Linked DNA regions of Homo sapiens: all the other regions are linked to region 3. Evidence: promoter capture Hi-C in human tissues and cell types (Jung and others, 2019). All regions are on one chromosome and are shown on one strand. Each heading gives the region's core, a stretch centred on a gene start or on the middle of the fragment in contact. The rest is flanking DNA. Distances are from core to core; before and after follow the strand shown.

Region 1 (3,546 bases), core at 1,039-3,538, 260 kb after region 3:
GATGTGTGGCCTCAGCAAGTCCCTTGACATGTCTAGGGCTTGAGCCCTGCACCCCAACAGCAGCCTGGGGGCTCTGATGGTGCAGGTGTGGAAAGCACTCTGCCAGGCACTGGGGGTGGTGCAGAACCTGCCTTGTAGTCTATGGTCACTACCCTGCGCAGCTGGGCTGTAAGCCAGCCCACTTGCCTTACATCCTCAGAATCTGAACTTAGCCAGGAAGGGAAGGTCTGGTTCCTTCATTTGACAACTGGGGAAAATGGGGCCAAGAGAGGGGTGTCAGAGATCACGGAATGTAGTGGAAAGAGTACAGGCTTTAGAGACAGATGGATATTCCTTCATCCACTCATCCGCTCAACAAATACTAGCAAGATGCTATCACATGTCAGGTGCTCAGGACTTGCTGAAGGAACAGATGACAGGAAGGAAGAGTGAGTGAACCAACGAAAGGCACCGGGGTCCAGCCGTGAACTCAGCAGACACCATCCCTGCCTCCTGGAGTTTTCTGTCTAGGGCGAGCAGATGCATAACAGATAACTATTACAAATGACATGGGCACTACGAACTAGCCTGATAACATGCACCAGGAAGGCCCTGCCTGGCAGAGGAGGTGATACTCCAGCTGGGCTCTGAGGGTATTAGCCAGGCAGGGAGAAGCTTGGGAGGTCGGAACAGCAAGTGCAAAGGCCCTGAGGTAGGAAGCAGCTCAGGGCTTTTGAGAACAAAAGGTCCCTCTATGTGGCTGGAGTGTAGTGACCAGTGCAGGAGCTGGAGCAGGAACAGCCAGGGGGAGGATCTCGGTCTCATTCCAAGGGTGATGGCAATGTAAGCAAGGGCAGCACTCTGGGTTCGACGGGGAGAGTGAGCGGGAGAGTTCAAATACCAGTTCAGCCAATTTCTTTCTTTCTTTCTTTTTTTGAGGCGGAGTCTCGCTCTGTTGTTGCCTAGGCTGGAGTGTAGTGGTACCATCTCGGCTCACTGCAACCTCCGCCTCCCGGGCTCAAGCAATTCTCCTGCCTCAGCCTCCCTGCTAATTTTTGCAATTTTAGTAGAGATGGGGTTTCACCATATTGGCCAGGCTGGTCTCAAACTCCTGACCTCAAGTGATCTGCCTGCCTCAGCCTCCCAAAGTGCTGGGATTACAGGCATGAGCCACCGTGCCCCGCACAGCCAATTTCTGATAAAGCAACTGCATGGGCAAACACGATGCTACAGGAAAGGGACCATGCTGTGCGGCTCTGTTTCTATAAAGTGCAGAGATGGACAAGGCCAGCCTCTACTGTCAGATGCCAGGAGTGGGGGCAGCTGCTGGCAGCAGGTGGGGGTTGACTGGGAGGAGCACGGGGGAGCCTCCAGGGGCACTGGGGATGTTCTAGGTCTGGATCTGGATGGAGGCTGCACAGCTACCTATAGCTGTACACTTAAGAAGTGTGCACTTTTCTGTATTAAGTTATACCTCCAAGAAAAAGTAAAAACAAAAGCCTGGCTGCGTCACTCTGCCTCTCTTAATCTCTGTTTTTGCATTGGCAAAATGCAATGGCAGGAGCTGCCCCACTGTGCAGAGGCTTTAGAGGACGGTGCACCCAGTCTGTGTGCAGTGGCAGGAGCTGCCTCGCTGTGCAGAGGCTTTAGGGGATGGTGCACCAGGGCTGTGTGTAGACAGTGGCAGGAGGTGCCTCACTGTGCAGAGGCTTTAGAGGATGGTGCACCAGGGCTGTGTGTAGACAGTGGCAGGAGCTGCCTCGCTGTGCAGAAGCTTTAGAGGATGGTGCACCAGGGCTGTGTGTAGACAGTGGCAGGAGCTGTCTCGCTGTGCAGAGGCTTTAGAGGACGGTGCACCAGGGCTGTGCACAAGCCTGGCTGACAGCCACTGCACCATGAACGCAAGTCACACAGAAGCAGAAAAGTATCTGGCTTCCACCACACCTTGGCCCTCTTTGAGCCTCAGTTTCGGTAAGGAACCAGTGGTCCCCACCTGCCTCAGAGGCAAAGGGGTAAAGGTGTAAAAACCCTCATATCAGGCCCCTGTGAGCCAGCTTGCCCCTCGCCACAAAGTGGAGAGCAATTCAGAGACCAGAACACACAGTATGCCTACTGCTCCACGCAGTAGGTACTAAGCCTGTAACTCACTGCCCACAGCCACACACAGAGGAAGGCGATAGAAGGCAGGCCTAGCCCAAGCTTCCAGGTGCCCAACCTGCTCACCCACTATGTGCCAGGCCTGGCCTAGGGCTTCCCTCTAGGAGGAGCACCGGCCCACCACGATGGCTCCTCCAGGTGCCACTGGGACACAGGACCATAGGCACAAGCGCAGTGGGAACCCAGGCCAACGGGTGGCCCCTGCCTGGGGCTGGAGTTTAGCAGACTCCTGTGGGAACAGGCTCACAAGGTTCCAGATGAGCCACCAGATAAAGGTGACTCAACATAATGGTACCCTTGGTGTCAGAGGGGCTGCATGGCCAGGTGCCCCTCACACCATGGGCAGCTGGAAGCAGGGAGAGGCCTGGTTCCCTGTCCAGAGCCTGAACATCTCACCCTCCTCCCTGGGACCTTGGGTGGCCTTGGGAAATCAGACTGGTGGCAACCTCACCAACAATTTGTAGGCTCAGCTGTCCTCACGGCCCTTTAATATCATTTTCTCATGAGTCTGCCAACAACCTAGGGACAGGGCCCGGGGTCAGAATCATCATTGGCTCCATTTTACAGAGGAGTACACTGAGGCTCTAGGAGGTTTGGTGTCCCAGGGGTACCCCAATGAGGAGTCAAGAAGCAGCTAGATGGCTGGATGCCCATGGTCAGCCCCTGGGCACAACTCAGTCCCCTGTGCCCTGTCCTCCCCATCACCTGGGGGCTGCTCACTCAAGCAGCCAGTTCACTCAGTCAGTCAACAAACAGCAACTGTGTGCTGCAGCCACTGTTCTAGGAGCTGGAGGCAGAGCAGGGAACAGGCTAGGCTGCAGGGAGGTGGTTCCGAGTCAACAACCGCTCCAGCCCTTACACACTCGGCACATGCCGAGAACAACAGTGTGGCAGACACACTGGCGCCTGTCATGAGCCAGGCGCTGCACTGAGACTATCACATCTAATTCTCTAAGCAGCCTCACAAGGGTGGAATAGTCATCCCCATTTTACAGATGAGGACGCTGAGGCTCAAATTCAGGGCCTTGCCTGAGTGTAGTCTCACAGCCTAGTCTAAGTGGGGAAGGATCTGGCCCCAAGCACGTGGGCTCCTCAGTCCTGTCTGTCCGTCCCATGGGACTTTTAGTCCTTTGTGTGAGTTGTCGGAAGGGAACCTTGCTCTGGACCTCAGCAATGGATGGATCTAGCAGGGCCTCAGGATGAACCAGGACCCAAGACTCCACACCCCATCCCGTGTCTCAGGCCCTGGCTGCCTACAGTATCCAGAGCTGTACACCCTCTGGGCCCGGAGCCCAGCCTGACTTTCGTTCTGCATACGCTCCTGGGACCTGGGCTCCACAGAGACATCCGAGACCATTCCTGCTCCCGGGGCCCTGCCCACATCAGCTCAGCCCCAGCAAAGATCCCAGT
Region 2 (3,434 bases), core at 513-3,012, 410 kb before region 3:
TTTTAAAGTCAGATTTGACTTTATCTTGTGCTTATGTGTCTGGAAGCTTGCTTGCTTTTGTTTTGGGCCCATCTCTGCTGCTTGTTAGCTGGTCAACGTGGGCAAGTAATTTAACCTTTCTGTTTAATATTCCTTAGCTACAAAGATGGGCGTTCTGGAGCACCTTTCCCTCGGGGTGGTTTTACATTTGAGATGAGTTACTGTAGTTTTAACTTTGATCCTCAGCATGCTCAGGAGTGCTCAGTTACTAAGCTATTGTATCTCAGCTCCAAATTCACCCTTTTATGCTCTGCACTACTGAGGCTGAAATGATCCAAACCTAATTTCATCTTTCACAGCTGGCTCTCAGGCTGTGTCTATAGTGGGTGCTAGAGGGAGACCAAAGGGCAGAGGAGAGGTGAGGGATTTGCTTCTTCCTGTTTGCTCAGTGTGGTCAGCATTGTCAGCAAAGGCTTTCACCTGGTAGCAGCAGTTAGTTACAGGGCGTAGATTTTTTAGTCCTTCCAGAACCAGCCAGTAACTGAACTAAAATCAGCCTGATAACTCTTACCTGTTTCCTTTTATTTATCACGTGGTAGAGGGTAAGGAAAAAAGGGGCGAGGGTGAAGCTCAGAGAAGGCCCCCATGGAGCTGGGACTTAGCCCTCCAGGGAGGAGGCACTGTCCGGCTAGCTCTGGATGTATCAAAAAAGCTGGAGACTGGAACCAACTGCCGCCAGGTAAAGGGTCTTTGCTGGGGCAATACAGGTAGGAACAGTAAATACAGGAGGGCCGCAACCACAGTTTTGCTTTCTGCAGTTTCAGTTACCCATAGTCAACCATGGTCCAAAAATTTTAAGTGGAAAATTCTAGAAATAACTTAAAAGCACAATCCCACCTGGGGCAGGAATCATCTGTTTGTTCAGCATCTCCACACTGTAAATGCTACCCACCAGTTAGTCACTTAGTAGCTGTCTTGGTTATCAGATTGACTGTCAAGGTAATCAGTATTGCGGTGCTTGTGTTCAGGTCACCCTTATTTAATAACGGCCCCAAAGCACAAGTGTAGTGGTGCTGGCAGTTTGGATATACTAAAGAGAAAGTCATAAAGTGCTTCCTTTAAATGAAAAGGTGAGAGTTCTTGACTTTAAGGAGGAAAAAAATATATGCTAAGGTTGCTAAGATATATGGTAAGAAGGAATCTTCGAACCACAAAATTGTTAAGGGAAAAAATTCATTTTAGTTTTTTTTTTTTTTTATGCTGAGGTTGCTAAGATACATGGTAAGAAGGAATCTTCTATCCACAAAATTGTTAAGAAGGAAAAAGAAATTCATCTTAGTGGCCAGGCGTGGTGGCTCACGCCTGTAATCCCAGCACTTTGGGATGCCAAGGTGGCGGATCACGATGTCAGGAGATTGAGACCATCCTGGCTAACACGGTGAAACCGTCTCTACTAAAAATACAAAATTAGCCAGGTGTGGTGGCAGGCTCCTGTAGTCCCAGCTACTTGGGAGGCTGAGGCAGGAGAATGGTGTGAACCCGGGAGGTGGAGTTAGTGAGCTGAGATTGCGCCACTGCACTCCAGCCTGGGTGACAGAGCGAGACTCTGTCTCAAAAAAAAAAAAAATAGTTTTTTCCCCCCCTTCTTTTTTTACATAAATTGAGACAAGGTCTCACTATGTTGCCCAGGCTGGTCTCGAACTCCTGAGCTCAAGTGATCCTCCTGCTTCAGCCTCCCAAAGTGCTGTGCTTACCGACGTGAGCCACCATGTCCGGCCCAAGCTAGTTTTCCTGTTGCACCTCAAACTGTAAAAGTTACTGCCACAGTACATGAGAAGTGCTTAGTTAAAATAGAAAAGGAGGCCAGGCACTGTGGCTAATGCCTGTAATCTTAGCACTTTGGGAGGCTGTGGCAGGTGGATCGCCTGAGCCCAGGAGTTTTGAGACCAGCCTGAGCAACATGGTGAAACTCTGTCTCTGCAAAAAAATAAAAAAAAGTAGCCAAGTGTGGTGGCATTCACTTGTAGTCCCAGCTACTTGATAGGCTACTTGAGCCGGAGAGGTAGAGGCTACAGTAAGCTGTGATCACACCACTGCATTCCAGCCTGGGTGATAGCAAGATCCTGTCTCAAAAAAAAAAAAAAAAAGATGAAGGCTGGGCGCGGTACCTCACGTCTGTAATCCCAGCACTTTGGGAAGCCGAGGTGGGCAGATCCCCTGAGGTCAGGAGTTTGAGACCAGCCTGGCCAACATGGCGAAACCCCATCTTTACCGAAAGTACAAAAATTAGCCGGGCGTGGTGGCGCCTGTAATCCCAGCTATTCAGGAGGCTGAGGCAGGAGAACCGCTTGAACCTGGGAGGCGGAGGTTGCAGCGAGCCGAGATTGCCCACTGTACTCCAGCCTGGGCGACAAGAGTGAAACTCCATCTCAAAAAAAAAAAAAGATGGAAAAAAACATTAAATATTAAATTTATGAACGTATGACATGGACAAACATGTTTCAATTGACGGCAGTCAGGTTTGGTGCTGTCCGAGGTTTCAGGTATCCTCCCGGGTTCTTCAAACATATTCCCCAGGGATAAGGGATCTACTGTATACAGGAAGGGGCACCCCTCCTCCCTTGCAGTCTTCTGGAAACTGCAGAGGGAGTCTGTTAGGCAGATGATAACAAAAACCAGCTGGTGGAGTTCAAGAAATGGGGCCTACGGGGCCCCAGCCCCAGCACCACAGGACATAAAAGGAAGAATTTGGAGCTGAGAAACAAGTGACTGCAACACTTGAAGTCAAATCAAAGAAAATTTATCTCCTTTCTTCAGGCTTCCAGCTGGTCTTTTTACCCTTTGCTGATGATAAAAGGAAGATGCCCTTTACTGAAAAAATCATGGCAACTCCAGAGCAGGTGGGCAAGATGAAGGCTATCGTTGAGAAGCTTCGCTTCACATACAGGTGAGTCAATCTCAGGCTTTCTGGAACTGCCTCCTGAGTTGAAAATCTTATTAGAAACAGCTTGGGCATAGGCCAAGAGAATGGCACTACTCTTTTCAGCAAACTGACAGATTACTACTTGTTATTAATAGTTTTTTGAAAGCCATATAGAGAATGGAACCTTTTATTATGTTGGAGACTCTGGGATTTTGTGGTTTCTCTGTTGTGCTGTACTTAGCCAGATTAGTTGGTTGAACAAATTTGAAAAAATAGCAGGATTCTTATTCGCCCTTCTCCTTGATTGTGTTTGTTATTCCACAATGAGCAAAAGTAAATAAATCTAGTGTAAATTGTTAAAGGCTTAAAAGAATGATTAAGTAATTCAAGTCATTCCCTCTCACATATATAATAGACCAACTCTCAGAGCCTGCATAATGGGACACTAAACGTAATTTTTTTCACATGTCATTTTTAAAAATTTATTATTATTATTATTATTATTATTATTATTATTATTATTATTATTTTG
Region 3 (3,105 bases), core at 207-2,706:
TGTAATTCCAGCACTTTGGGAGGCCGAGGTGGGCGGATCACCGTAAGTCAGGGGTTCAAGACCAGCTTGGGCAATATGGTGAAACCCTGTCTCTACTAAAACTACAAAAAAATACCGGGGTGAGGTGGTGAGTGCCTGTAATCCCAGCTACTTAGGAGGCTGAGCAGGAGACTTGCTTGAACCTGGGAGATGGAGGTTGCAGTGAGCCGAGATCGCGCCACTCTACTCCACTCCAGCCTGGGTGACAGAGTGAGACTCCGTCTCAAAAAAAAAAAAAAAAAAAAAGTGCGACAACGCACATTAGCCTACAGCTGGCCAAAATCATCTAACACAAAGCCTATTTTATAATAAATTGTTGAATATTTCATGCAATTTACTGAATACTGAAACACAGGTTGTATACGTACTGTGGTTTCTACTGAATGTGCGTCGCTTTCACACCACAGTAAAGTTGAAAAATCGTTAAGTCGGGACCATTGGCCAGACTCCAGGTCTCCTGAGCCCCAGTCCAGAGCTCTTTGCTCTCTACCACAGACCCTCAAGAGGCCTCAGAGAGGCTTAAGAAGTAAGCCAGCCAGGATGGGCACCCAATCAGCTCACCTAAGTGAGACCTTTCCCCCTCGGGCCTCAGTTTCCTTATCTGTAATATGGAGTTACTGTAGGGACTGTACAGGCGGTTCTCCGCACATGCTGATATCCATCAGTTAGGGCCTCTGTGCTTGAGGGAGAGGAAGTGAGAAAGGAAGGGCCCCTTTGAAGGAGAAATGATTCCCGTATGGGGAAGCATCTCCTCCCTTCCTGCCCAGCTCTAAGTAAAAGAGAGAGGAACCTGTCTCTCCACATACCCACATTAGGGAAGAAGGGCCAAAGCACTCCTTGTAGCACTCACCCCTACCCTTCCAAGCCACCCCAGCCGGTGTAGGTACCTGTCTTCAGCAGCATCGCTCTGGACTCAGCTTCCGAGGACCTGACCAGATCTGGTCTGCGTGTATCAGCTGTATGTGTTGGGCTCTGGAAGCTAAGAAACGTCTGAAAAGCACTGGGGTCACGGCTGCCTGGCTAGCTCGGCCGCCCTCAACCTTAGGCGTGGATCGTACACTCGGTCCCCAAGTTGCCCGCCCCATCCCCAGCCATCACTTCCCGGAGCTTCAGTTCTTCCTTCAGAAATACGAAACAACGTGTCTTGGATGTCAGACCTCACACCCTCTGCAGTGCTGGGAGTCCCGAGGGCCTACGGGCCGCCTTCGGCCCCGCCCGGGCTCAGAAAAAGGCAGCCACTGGCTTAAGGTCACCAAGAAAGAGCGGAGGGGCGGGGCTGCGGCCAGGCTCCGGACTTCCAGCCGGGTCCGGGTTCCCGCCCTGGGCTCCCCAAAACCGCAGAGCCCCCTCCCACCGCACTTATCCTACCGAAGCGTTCAGACCTGCCGCCGCTTCTGACTCGAATCCGGTAACCTGATAAGTCCGAAGCGTTCCAGTGAGGGCGGGGCCTCACGAAGGCAACCCTTCGCGCAACCTATCAGAATCCCCCCTAGCAACGCTGTGCCCCGCCCATATGGGTCCGGCCTCCCAGCCTCCCTAAGCCCTTCCCCACTGGGCTCCCGCCCTGCGTGCTAGCGAGGCAGGCATTGGCAGAACGGACTCGGGGCTGTCCTTCGTGGCCCGGACCCCGCGAGGCCTGTCCTTCCACCTCTGTGGGGACCAAGAGGGCAAGGATCGTGCCAGGCTCACCGTGGGCGCTCAGTAAGCGGCCGTGCAGAGGACGGTTGAGGGCTTTGTGCAGAGGAAATGAGAGACTGCTCTGAAGCAAGGCCCGCCTAGTGAGCTGCTAGGAAAATGGAAGTCTGGGATTAATCGTCTCTACAAGGAGGGTGCGTGGGAGGCACCAAAGCAGGCGGTCACAGCTCCCGCAAAGGCAGCCGGCTCTCCTTCCCCGCCTGACGCTCAGGGACTACTCGCACAGACTGGGCTACTTCCTTCTTCATTCATTCATCAAGTATTTATTGAGAAACTGCTAAGTGCCAAATGCTTTGTTCTGGGCATTGTAGGGGCAGAAAGGTGTGATATTTTCCCTTACTCATCCCAAAGGTCACAGCGGACACTCCTACAAATAAAATATAGGTTAGCAAGAGAAAAGCATAATAGATTGATTTACTCAATGTTTTATGTGACTTGAGAGCCTTCAGGAATGAAGACACAAATACTCAGGGAAATCTTTATTTTTATGTCTCGGTTTGATGAAGAATGGACAGCCCTGGCCGGGTCTGGTGGCTCATGCCTGTAATCCCAGCACTTTGGAAGGCTGAGGCAGGGGGATCGCTTGAGGCCAGACATTTAAGGACAGTCTGGGCAACATAGTGAGACCCTGTCTCTACAAAAAATTAAAAAGCCAGGCAGGTGCCTGTGGTCCCAGCTACTCGGGAGGCTGAGGTGGGAGGATTGCTTGAGTCCAGGAGGTCGAGGTTGCAGTGAGCTGTGATTGTGTCACTGTACTCCAGCCCGGGCAACAGAAAAAAAAAAAAAGGAATAAGGAATGGACAACTGTGTATAAACGCGATTAGACAAAAGGGAATGATTTAATGTTAATAGCTGAGTGTGGAAACCCAGCAATGTCTGTTCAGATTCGGATTCTTCTTGTTCTCTCTGTGTGGCATTCCCTCCTGCTGGGAGGAGGGCAGGACCCCTTCTGGAATGAGAGTCTTATGACCTAGTATCAGGCAAGGTAGATCAGAGAATTCCTTTATGGCCAGGCCCGACACAGAAAGGTGGGGGATGTTTCCAGTAATATTTGTAGTTACTTTTTTTTCTTTTTTTTTTTCTTTTGAGACAGAGTCTCCCTCTGTCACCAGGCTGGAGTGCAGTGGCGCGATCTCTGCTCACTGCAACCTCCGCCGCCCAGGTTCAAGCGATTCTCCTGCCTCAGCCTCCCAAGTAGTTGGGACTACAGGCGCACGCCACCATGCCCAGCTAATTTTTGTATTTTTAGTAGAGATGGGGTTTCACCATGTTGGCCAGGATGGTCTTGATCTCTTGACCTCGTGATCCGCCCACCTCAGCCTCCCAAAGTGCTGGGATTACAGGCATGAGCCACTGTGCCCAGCCAATATT

Evidence for each region. The method cuts DNA at HindIII sites, captures the fragments that hold promoters and counts their contacts. A contact is called where the count stands out against the background at its distance.
Region 1: a contact is called between a fragment that was not itself captured here and the fragment with the promoter of NAGA in region 3, in 1 of the 25 tissues and cell types used here (dorsolateral prefrontal cortex).
Region 2: a contact is called between a fragment that was not itself captured here and the fragment with the promoter of NAGA in region 3, in 1 of the 25 tissues and cell types used here (lymphoblastoid cells).

Annotation. Positions count from the first base shown.
Region 1 is chr22:42,331,604-42,335,149 of GRCh38, forward strand. It overlaps a transcript of TCF20 not described here. Among named protein-coding and RNA genes, the nearest start is that of LINC01315, 36 kb to the right of the region's middle. The HindIII fragment of the contact is 4,393 bases long and covers 93-3,546 here.
Region 2 is chr22:41,654,107-41,657,540 of GRCh38, forward strand. It overlaps XRCC6 (X-ray repair cross complementing 6), which reads left to right. Exons shown (of 13, transcript NM_001469.5): 10 at 2,797-2,926. Among named protein-coding and RNA genes, the nearest start is that of SNU13, 33 kb to the right of the region's middle. The HindIII fragment of the contact is 3,766 bases long and covers 1-3,434 here.
Region 3 is chr22:42,069,356-42,072,460 of GRCh38, forward strand. It overlaps NAGA (alpha-N-acetylgalactosaminidase), which reads right to left and starts at 1,457. Exons shown (of 9, transcript NM_000262.3): 1 at 927-1,457. The coding sequence starts at 942. RefSeq lists a silencer at 1,238-1,537 and an enhancer at 1,718-1,767. The HindIII fragment of the contact is 6,054 bases long and covers 1-3,105 here.